Linked DNA regions of Homo sapiens: all the other regions are linked to region 4. The links are contacts of gene promoters, found by promoter capture Hi-C in blood cells and fetal thymus (Javierre and others, 2016). All regions are on one chromosome and are shown on one strand. The core of a region is centred on a gene start or on the middle of the fragment in contact, and the rest is flanking DNA. Distances in the headings are between cores, read along the strand shown.

Region 1 (2,700 bases), core at 6-2,505, 140 kb before region 4:
TCTGCCTGAACCAAAGTCATTGCCAACAGATGTTATCTCAAAGCAATTATCCACTGGGGTTCTGTGTCTTCTGATTCCACATAATGAGGTGCCAAAGAATGGGGCAGCCAGACAGCTGATGCAGTCCACAGAGATGCTTATAAATGGAAAAGGTTTGGGACTCCGATCTCATGGCCTTTGCTCCTTCTGCTTCTCTTGTTCCTAATCAGGGCTATCTTAGGGGGCATTTGGATCTGCAGGAGCAGCTGGGAGGGAGTTCTCATGTCATTCTGAGTTGATAGGCATGGCTAAGAGATGGCCTGACCAGAAACATCTTCACCTGACTCCAACCACCAACAAGATGGAAACCCTCTCTTTTGAGCACCTGATTGAGGTGAGTCCTAGAAGTCCTCTTTTTGAAAGCAGGAATGATAGAGCATTGTGTTTAATGCTACTAGAAGATGTTGACAAATAGCACGGCCACATAAAGCAAATTATTTTGTTTCATTACCTAAAAGCATTCCTCCAGAGAAAGATAAAGTTTGATTGGGGAGCAGAACAGGGAACTTAAGGCCAGAAAAGTCCCAAAGCTAACACAGTTCACCTCAGGGCATCCTTGCATCATTCCTTGCGAATGACAATATAAAATTAGCCACTTTTGAGCCTCCATGATAGCCACCGTCTTTTGGTGGCCTCGTATTAGGCATTTGGCTGCACAGGGAGGGCAATAAACTGACAAGCCTTCATTATGTCAATCATGTTATGCCATGAAGTGGAAGATGGCAGGCGATGGAAGATAGGTGAGAGTGAGATGCATACATATATACCCAAGTATTCATCAGAGCAATTTATCTTGAGATTCATATACACAAGCTGACCTTCAAAGTTCTTACTAACACTGCTATCTATCCAGAGGGAAATACTGTTAGAAAAGGTGAGGTCTATGCTACCTCTAGAGGCTATCCATGATAAGAATTGTTTCACTTAGCGGAAGCCAAGAATTTCTATTCTCATTTTTAAGAGTAATACTTTTTCCAGAGCTGAAAGGATGCCTGTAGCTCTCATCTTTAATAACCTATGTTCTTACCCTTTGTGTGACTGTCTAGCCTACTAATGACTTTCTCTAATCTTTGACAGTATTGTCTGTCTTTTCAAACTTTGGCATCTTCCAAGATTGGTACAAGGGACTTTGACACACCTGAGCACACCTAAAACCCTCACTCACTCTGCTACTCTCTCCTTCCTCTTCCTTCATGAGTTGGATCCTTCCTCTCCCCAATTATCTAAGTCACTCCTTTAGTTTTGTTTCCAGTAGTTTTCTCAAATACTTCTCTACTTAGAAGATGGGCAATTAGCATATATGAATGACTCCCGTAAACAAAATGTCCATAACTTCTCCTGATTCCAGCTACTCCATCACGCATCTGCCGCTATGTCTAGACTTCATGACACCTGAAACACTGCCATCATAGACACTGCTGCAGCGTGCATGGGCTCTCTCTTCCTCATGATGACACGAAGTTCCACTTCAGACCTCAAGGCGGCCAGTTCCAGTACAGTGCCCATCACTGTCTTCCTTGGTCTCAATAGCACTGCCCAATAGAAATACGACGTAAGCCCCATCTGTAAGTTTAAATTTTCTAGTAGCCACATTTAAAAAGTAAAAAGAAATGGGTGGGAGTAACTTTAATAACGTCTTCTCTAACTCAATATACCCAAACATCAATATGTAATCAAGACAAGAAAATTATGAATGAAATATTTTACCTTCTTTTCTTCTACTACCTCTTTGGAATCCGGTGTATATTTTACACTGCTGGGACATCTCAATTTGAATGCTTATATTTTCATTAGAAGTCCTTGGGTGGTATCTAGGTTTCATAAACTTTACAATCGAAAAGTAAATTCCAATACACAAGTTGTTCCAAATATGCTTAAACGTTTTCCAATAACCAAATCAGTATCCATTTTAAAATTTAAATTAATTAAAATTTAAAATTCAGTTCTACTTACAGCATCCCCCTGAGAGGCTGCTCCTTCTCCTATGGCCCAGGTAACTTCAGAATCAAATGGAGGTATTGCATTGTTCTTGTTCATCAATGATATTTCCAATTACGCTTATAACATGCCCACCTTCTTTGAAGCGCCATCTTCTCCTGCTCATCATTGCCTACTGACCTCCTAGTTCTTCCCCTTCATTTGCCAGACTCTGGCATCTGGTTTCCTCTCTTCCTCTCTACCCTAAGTCCTTCCACTCTTCTATTATAGATGACCTCAGTGCTCTGTGTCACAGCCAACACCTGGCCTCAGACTTTCCAGACCCCTGAATTTCAATGACCTTTAATTCCTTTCATTTCAGCTACCCACATCCACAACTGCCTTCTAGAATTTGTCATAATCCCAAAATACTCCAAGCCTCATATCAAATCTTCAGCCCACTCCATGTCCATGCTCCCTAAAATGTCCTAGACTTTACAGACGCTTGTCCCTGGAGACTTCTCTTTCCTTCCAGTCCATTGACCTAATTCTTGCACTTACAGCACAGTGGAAGAGTAAGGAAGAAATTTCTTGTAACCAAACTCCCTGGGGTTGCATCTAAGCTCTGCCACTTACTAGCTATGTGGCTTGGAGCAAGTTATTTAACCTCTGTGCGTCTCACTTTCCCCCTGTCTAAAATGAGGATAGCAACCCTATCAGGTAGCTTCTGTGAGAAATCAAATA
Region 2 (2,700 bases), core at 125-2,624, 200 kb before region 4:
TGAATGTATGCCCTGGGGCCTGTTGGAAGCTTCCAAATTCATTCTTGTTTTGTGGTAAACCTCCATGTCTTTTTAATTTGCTCCCAAGCAAATTTGTCTTGGTTTTAATGTCAAAACAATACGGCCTCCTCCTACATCTCTGAGAAATATGAACCTTTAGGGAGGCGTGCTATAATCATATGGTGACTTTGCTGACCCGTCGGCACCTTCCCCACACGCCTGAGGATACATGTGCCTCAATGTGCTACCACGTGGGACTGCCCTTCCATTAGCATAAGTAAGAGTGTGGGTCCACCTTTGGATATTGTAGCGTCTCATGATTTTTTTTTTATTTTTATTTATTTTTTTTGAGACGGAGTTTCGCTCTTTTTGCCCAGGCTAGAGTGTAATGGCACGATCTCGGCTAACTGTAACCTCCACCTCCCCAGTTCAAGTGATTCTCCTGCTTCAACCTCCCAAGCAGCTGGGATTACAGGCGTGTGCCACCATGCTTAGCTAATTTCATATTTTTAGTAGACGGGATTTCACCATGTTGGTCAGACTGGTCTCAAACTCCTGACCTCAGGTGATCTGCCCACCTCGGCCTCCCAAAGTGCTGGGATTACAAGCATCAGCCACCGCGCCCAGCCAGCATCTCATGATTAATAAATAAAATGCCAAGGCCCTGAAAAACTTTTGGAGAAAATGATTTTCTCCAAATCACAATGTGGGAGGAGATAGGCTAAACAGGGACCAGCTCTCTGAGCACAGCCTACTTTCATCTCTGGTCATAAACATCATAAAAACAGAACACAACACATTCGTGAACAAAGTTAGACCAACCATAATGCCAAAGTGATCTTAACAGAATCACAAATGTCATAGGCACCCTAAGGGAATGTCGTAAGGCATCCCTTAATGTCATAACATTTGAGAGAAGTGCCTGCTGTTTACCAAATACAGGTGAATAAATAAAGGAAATAAATAAATAAATAAATGTGCATCAGTGGCTCAGTTTGGGAATAAGGATGAAGAATTTGCATTCGAAATCCTCATAAAAGTCACATTAACCAAAGTTATGTTTCCATAAGACATAGTATTTGCAGATTGGGTCATCTGTACTGACCCTATGTGGCTGTTTCTGACCAAAAACATGCAGATTCCGACTAGTTCATAGCCCTTAGACAGGAGTAGCTATTGGTAAACATTGTAACAGCTGTAGGGAAATTAGACTTTCTTAATACTTAATATACAGAATGACAATACTACATGTACATATTTTGAAAAAAGAATATATACACTTACAGTGAGACAGTTTCAAACTATTTCGCTGATGAGAGGTACAATGTAAGTTATAAAATAATATCTAAACTCAAATAAGCACTAATATTAAAAGATAACTACTCTTTTACTTTTTAACTAAAATATTCAGGTGATTCTTAAATCGAACTTTAAATGATGTCCATGATATGTAAATCTTAAAAAAAAACAAATGGTATTTTCGTGTCTTGCCACAGTAGAGATGATCAGATACTTACCTCTAGGGGGAGCTCAAGGCTTTGTCTCTACTTAACGTTTTCTGTTTTCCCGGTGTTGCATGACAGAGCCCTTGGGATCTCTCCACTTGGGAAAAGATGCTCCACCCCATCCCTCTCATCCCCTTAAAAAGTTGCAAAAATTTGGGGTGGGAGGAGATGCTCAGGAGAAAAAGAGACTCTGGGAAAACTAATGGGCCAATCTCAGCCCACTAAGTGGTTATTTTTCTCTTTGGGGATAAAGCCTAACCATTATAAACCCAGTGTTTGCCTGGAGGATCCCCTTAGCAAATCCCTCAAACTACCAGTGGCAGCAGTATGAAACTGTGGACATTCATGCCCCATCATCCTTGGCTTCTTAGGATTACTGACTAGCACTCTTAGCACTTGTGGCTATATAAATACCGCTTTAATTTATACCAGCATTTCTCAAAATGGACTTTCAAAGAACACCAGTTTGACTGTAAGTTAGCAAATTTTATGTAAATAAAGGGTTGTCTGTCACAGAAGTTTAGAAAACACTGGGTTAAACTAAGTTCAAAAGTTTTCCTTTGTGCAGGACTTTTCATAGTCTGTAATGCATGATGACTCTCCAAAAGAAGGGACAAGTAGGAAGTGTTTCTCAAGTCTATATGACCACAGGTCTCTCTTTTAAGAGCTTCCTCTTAGGCCTGTTAGAACACTCCCTCAGACATTTTGCTCACGATTGCTGAGGTCGTGGTTAAGAAAAGAAGCACAGATTTGTTTTTTGTTTTTTGTTTTTTTAAACAACTCAGCCAAGTATATTTCAAACAAAAAGGGAGAGTTTGGTCTGAATTATCTGGATATCTGCTTCAATTAGCCATTCTAATTTACATGTACAATGAAAGCCTTGGAGTCCCACCTCCCTGCCATCACCTAATATTGTCTATGATAGGGAACTCATTAGGCCAACAGCATACAAAAATTTGGATTTATACTCAAAAAATGACTATTTACATCACAAAATGAGATTCGCCATAAAACTCCTTAAATCACAGATTCTCCCACCACATTTAAAAAATGATGCTACAAAATAACCATTAAGTTTACCCACTTACACATACTCAGCAAAACTCCTGGCTCACAGAGAGACACAATTGCATGTGGCATTGCACAGTGACCACTGCATTAAATACACACAGATGTAAACCCCTTCTTTTTAAAA
Region 3 (2,700 bases), core at 138-2,637, 170 kb after region 4:
ACCCTATAAAAGCCTTTCTTTGGTGCGCCTTTAACAGAGTCCCAAACTGATTCATGAATCACTGTCTGCTCAAATAAACATTTTAAGATTTTACTGTGCCTTAGTTTCTCTTTTAACAATGGTAATGATGTGGAAACATTTATCTGACAAATGTTTTTGAGAGGTATCAATTATGTAATATTCACTGACAAGGTTTACACCTATGCTGGTATTAAACAGAGACCATAATCATCTTCTTTAAATAATTGTATTAATCTAACATAGTCTTTATGATTATCTAAAAATATTTAGATCATTCTTTTTTGTTTGTTTGTTTTTGTTTTTGAGACAGGGTCTCACTCTGTTGCCCAGACTGGAGTGCAGTGGCGCAATCTCAGCTCACCGCAACCTCTGCCTCCTGCCTCAGCCTCCAGAGTAGCTGGGATTACAGGTGCACACCACCATACCCAGCTAATGTTTGTATTTTTAGTAGAGACAGGGTTTCACTATGTTGACCAGGCTGGTTTCGAACTCCTGACCTCAAATGATCCACCCGCCTTGGCCTCCCAAAGTGCTGGGATTATAGGCGTGAGTCACCATGCCCAGCCACATATTTAGATCATTCTAAAGAATACATTCATAGAAGAATCTTGTTTATAGTATTCAGGATTCCTTCCTTCCTTCCTTCCTTCCTTCCTTCCTTCCTTCCTTCCTTCCTTCCTTCCTTCCTTCTTCCTTTCCTTCCTTCCTTCTTCCTTTCCTTCCTTCGCTCCCTCCCTCCCTCTTTTCTTTCTTTCTTTGAGACGGAGTCTTATTCTGTCACCTAGGCTGGAGTGCAGTGGAGCAAACTCAACTCACTGCAACGTCTGCCTCACTGCAACCCAGCCTGGGCCACTATTTTAAAAATATAACATTTGAAGCCAGGCACGGTAACTCATGCCTGTAATCCCTGCACTTTGGGAGGGCAAGGCGGGCAGACCACTTGAGGCCAGTTCAAGACCAGCATGGGCAACATGGTGAAAACCCATCTCTACTAAAAATACAAAAAAAAAAAAAAAAATTAGCCAGCGTGGTGGTGGTGCACGCCTGCAATCCCAGCTACTTGAGAGGCTGAGGCATGAGAATAGCTTGAATCTGGGAGGCTGAGGTTGCAGTGAGCCAAGATCATGGCACTGCACTGCAGCCTGGGTGACAGAGCAAGGCTCTATCTTAAAATATATATATATATATATATTTATATTTATATATGTTTATATTTATATTTAAATATATATATTTATATTATATATATGAGTTGTGTCTTTAACAGCAAACAAAAGTTAGCCAGGGGAAGGTCGAGAATGCAAAAGGAAGAGCACTCACAAAGCCGAGGTATAAAGATGTTTAAGGAAGAAAAAGGAACTTGATAACGTTGGGAAGTAAATAAGTAAGGTAAATAGGAACTTAATTTGAAAGGCCTACAATGCTATTCTAGGGAGCAATAGTGGTCATTCATTGATGAATCAAAAGAACAATTTTGCCTTCTCTGCTCTTGTCTCCAGGCTGTGGTTACACAGCAGTACACATTGGAGATACTGGGCTCCACATTTAGCTGGAAGACATGCCATGTCTTCTTGAGTTCCCTCTAATCTTCCTCTCCCATTGCGCATAAAGGATCTTCAAACCTTCTCCGCACTCATGCCCCTTGTCCTACCACCTCCACAGCTCCTTCTCTACAGAAAAACTTGCCTTTTATTTCACAGAAGAAATGCAACCTAGAGGCCAAAGCAGGCAGATCACTTGAGCTGAGAAGTTTGAGATCAGCCTGGGGAACAAAGTGAGACCCCGCCTCTACAAAAATTACAAAAATTAGCTGGACAAGATGATTCATGTCTGTCGTCTCAGCTACTCGGGAGGCTGAGGTGAGAGCATCGCTTGAGCCCGGCAGGCGGAGGTTGCAGTGAGCTGAGATCATGCCGCTGCACTCCAGCCTGGGTGACAGAGTGAGACCGTCTCAAAAAAACAAAACCAAAAAACCCAACAACAACAACAATAACAAATCACACACAGGGTTTTGTGTCATGTTAATTTTTTTTTTTTAAACAGGGTATCATGCTGTCGCCCAGGTTGGTGCAATCTTGGCTCACTACAAATTCTCGGGCTCAAGTGAGGCTCCCACCTCAGCTTCCCGAGTAGCTGAGACTACAGGCCTGCACCACCACGCCTGGCTAATTTTTGTATTTTTTGTAGAGACGGGGTCTCACTTTGTTGCCCAGGTTGATCTCAAACTTCTCAGCTCAAGTGATCCGCTCGCCTTGGCCTCTCAAAGTGCTGGGATTACAGGCATGAGCCACCTCTCCAGGCCATGTCCATCCTATTAACATTTGGAAGTGCCTAGCACAGTGTACTCTTTAGAATTGTGGAATAACAATGATTGATGAAATGAAACATATACTTGAAGATGCTACTAGGGTATACGAGATTTTTTTTCTGACTTAGAACTACATCAAAGAAAGAAGGGCCTAAGACCAAGGTTTGGGAATGTACACAATGAATTGCTCAAAAGAGAGTTAGCTTTAGTAATGACAGGAAGAAGCTATTTCTTCAACCAAACAGAATACACACAGAAAAATTTAAAAGAGCCATTACACTGGCTGGCAAAACAGATGTGGATATTATGGCCCTGGTACACACGGAGTTTATAGTCAGGTACACTGTCCTGTCACAACGACCAATACGTTA
Region 4 (2,700 bases), core at 176-2,675:
TAGTAACATTCCTAATTCTTGAATTTTTCAGGAGGAGGTATTCCAGATTGGCAAGTCCTTTAAATGCAAAGGGCTGTATTGCTTCAATAGGATTATGAGACAAAGAAAGTCTTCTAAGACTTTTAAGTACTTCAAAGGCATTTGATGGTACTTTTGTTAAATTATTACTTCCTAAATACAAACAAGCAAGGTTTTCAAGATGTTGAAAGCCTGATTCTGATATCCTCAAAATGTTATTGTTTGATAAATCAAGTATCCGAAGAGCAACCATACCAACAAAGGTACCACTCCCAAGGACAGTGAGGCGATTCCTTTGTAGATTTAAGTACTGAACTGAAACTAGATCATTAAATACTCCTCTCGGAACAAAAGATACCTGATTATACTGTAAATATAAATTACGAAGATTTAAAAGTCCCTTAAATATTCCAGGATCTAAGCGTTTGATGAAATTATTATTTAGAAATAGAAAATATAGATGCCTCAATTGAACAAAGGCTTTTGGATATACATACAGAATGTTAGAATTATCCAAATACAATGCTACAAGAGAATGAAGTCCTGTTAATTCACTTTCATTTATATAAGATATATTATTCCCAGTCAGATACAGAAAAACTGTACTTTCAGGAAAATTCTTAGGAATACTCGAAAGGCCTAAGTTACGGCAGTTAATTTGTCTCCCAGTGCAGAGCTGACAAACAGACGAACATCCAAGTATTTCTTTGTGGAGTAATAATAAAAGATAACAGGTAACAACCAGAAACAGTCGTAGGCAAGGCAGAGAAAACTGTAATCCACACATATCCCTGTTCTTGGATTTTCTGTTCAGATCAGAATTGGCTATAAAAAGAGAAGGTAAAGCTTTAAATCACGAAAACTTCATCAAATGAATTTTTTTTATAATACTATAACTTCTGTATTCTATTTTAATTAGGATCAGCCAATAATACTATCATAAATCATACCATGGTAATAGCAAAAAATAATGAGTATGGAATACGTTCTAGAATTATTAACATGATCAGGCCATTAACCCACTATTTGACAAAATAGTTCAGATTAATGAAACATTTGCTAAGTTAACTTAAAAATTACAATTGATTACAACACAGGTGACAAATGATGTAGGAATGAGAATCTTTGAATTTAATATGTCCCTTTAACAACATAAAGTCTAATATCAAATAACATTATAATTTATGAAAATACAAATTCACTACAGAACAATTAAATTCTAAATTACAGTTTTTCACAGAACTATTTTTCATGTCAGCTAGAAGTTCATATTTAAGTAAATAATCTTACCAAGAAAAGGAAATTCGTATTATTAACACTCAGCTGATTCAGTAAAGGTTTTCTTTTTAAATCTGAAGAACGACATTTCTTAACTCCAGTTTGTTCTGTGGCACTGCTGACCTCCACCCCACCACTTTTTTTTTTTTTTTTTTAAGTCACCGTTTGCTCAGGAAACACCACTCTTCACATTGGTTCCTTTACAGTCAATGTGTAAAACAGAGGTTGCCATGGATACAGGAAGCTAAGAGACAGGAAGTAATTTTATCTGTGTTTCAAAAGTATTGCTGAACGGAAATCTCAGGAACTTATTTTTTCAGAATGCAGTTAGAGTTTTCCTAATATACACATTGAAATATCTCCTATAATATAAAAATAATAGTTTTTAAAGGATACTTGAAAACATTAGTTATTCAGAACCCAAATATCAATCAACAGACTCTAGCTATCAAACAACATAGCTACTGAATGGAAAAGGCTAGTTCAAATAAGATGTATATCGAGTAATACAATTTTTTGTAAACTTTTTAATGAATAAAATATTTATGTTGTGTTAAATACGCATTGAAGACTTAAACTTTATGCTTTATTCCTTTAATAAAAATAGGGGAAAAAATTTAGAATGAACATAAATGTTGTTATATTATCCTCCAGTGCTCTTTTTAAAATTTTCAAAATATTTTTGGTTGCAAAAAATACTGAGTACTACTTAATACGTGAGGTACTAATTGGTAGTAAGCTACTAATTAGTAGTAACGCACTAATTGGTTGTGTTGGGTTATAAGATGTTAAGAAGCTGCATACCAACTTACTGACATAGGTTATCTTTGCAAGAAAAATTGGGGAGAGTAAAAGAGGCGATGTTTCGCCCTATATATATCTGTATCAGTTTGAATCTTTTAGAACAAAAATGGAGAATTTTTTAACGTCATTTTTCAAGAATTTAAAGAATCGGATATAAATTGTTTATATTATATATTGTTCAGTCATTAACTTTCTTTCATTAACTTTAAGCTAGTTGCTTAAGCTTTCTAATTCTGACTTTTATTAATATTACTAATAGCCTGATAATATTCCTAAAATATCAAGTTATATAATTGTATACAACTCTCCTTTGATATTAAAGCAGTTTCATTTCACATCAACAATTACTTTAGAAATAATATGAATTATGTCCATATTAGAAAGCTGAAATAATACCTAGCATTATCTTTCTATGACTAAAAATTCAGCAATGCATACTGGATAGCAGATCGTTATCAAAATGACTTATGATTCTTACACCTATCCATTATGGCTGGTTACTGTTATTGCTATTTTATGCATTAAAAATGGAAAACAAAACAAGTGACAGAAATGATATGAATTTGAGGTAGGGGCTATGTTTCTCAGGTCCATTTTGTT

The links. Contacts are between HindIII fragments. The CHiCAGO score rates a contact against its expected background, and 5 or more counts as called.
Region 1: a contact is called between a fragment that was not itself captured here and the fragment with the promoter of LRRC70 in region 4, in 1 of 17 cell types (monocytes). The highest score is 5.9, in monocytes.
Region 2: a contact is called between a fragment that was not itself captured here and the fragment with the promoter of LRRC70 in region 4, in 2 of 17 cell types (monocytes and M1 macrophages). The highest score is 11.6, in monocytes.
Region 3: a contact is called between a fragment that was not itself captured here and the fragment with the promoter of LRRC70 in region 4, in 4 of 17 cell types (fetal thymus, naive CD4 T cells, naive CD8 T cells and 1 more). The highest score is 8.0, in fetal thymus.

The regions. Positions count from the first base shown.
Region 1 is chr5:62,721,359-62,724,058 of GRCh38, reverse strand. No RefSeq gene overlaps it. Among named protein-coding and RNA genes, the nearest start is that of LRRC70, 140 kb to the right of the region's middle. The HindIII fragment of the contact is 2,904 bases long and covers 1-2,700 here.
Region 2 is chr5:62,777,966-62,780,665 of GRCh38, reverse strand. No RefSeq gene overlaps it. Among named protein-coding and RNA genes, the nearest start is that of LRRC70, 200 kb to the right of the region's middle. The HindIII fragment of the contact is 2,685 bases long and covers 32-2,700 here.
Region 3 is chr5:62,405,032-62,407,731 of GRCh38, reverse strand. No RefSeq gene overlaps it. Among named protein-coding and RNA genes, the nearest start is that of DIMT1, 2.5 kb to the right of the region's middle. The HindIII fragment of the contact is 3,071 bases long and covers 1-2,700 here.
Region 4 is chr5:62,577,544-62,580,243 of GRCh38, reverse strand. LRRC70 (leucine rich repeat containing 70) reads right to left here and starts at 1,425. Exons shown (of 2, transcript NM_181506.5): 1 at 1,309-1,425; 2 at 1-843. The coding sequence starts at 805. The region is part of intron 27 of IPO11 (importin 11); the gene reads right to left. IPO11-LRRC70 (IPO11-LRRC70 readthrough) reads right to left here and starts at 1,509. Exons shown (of 4, transcript NR_073584.1): 1 at 1,309-1,509. The HindIII fragment of the contact is 1,459 bases long and covers 867-2,325 here.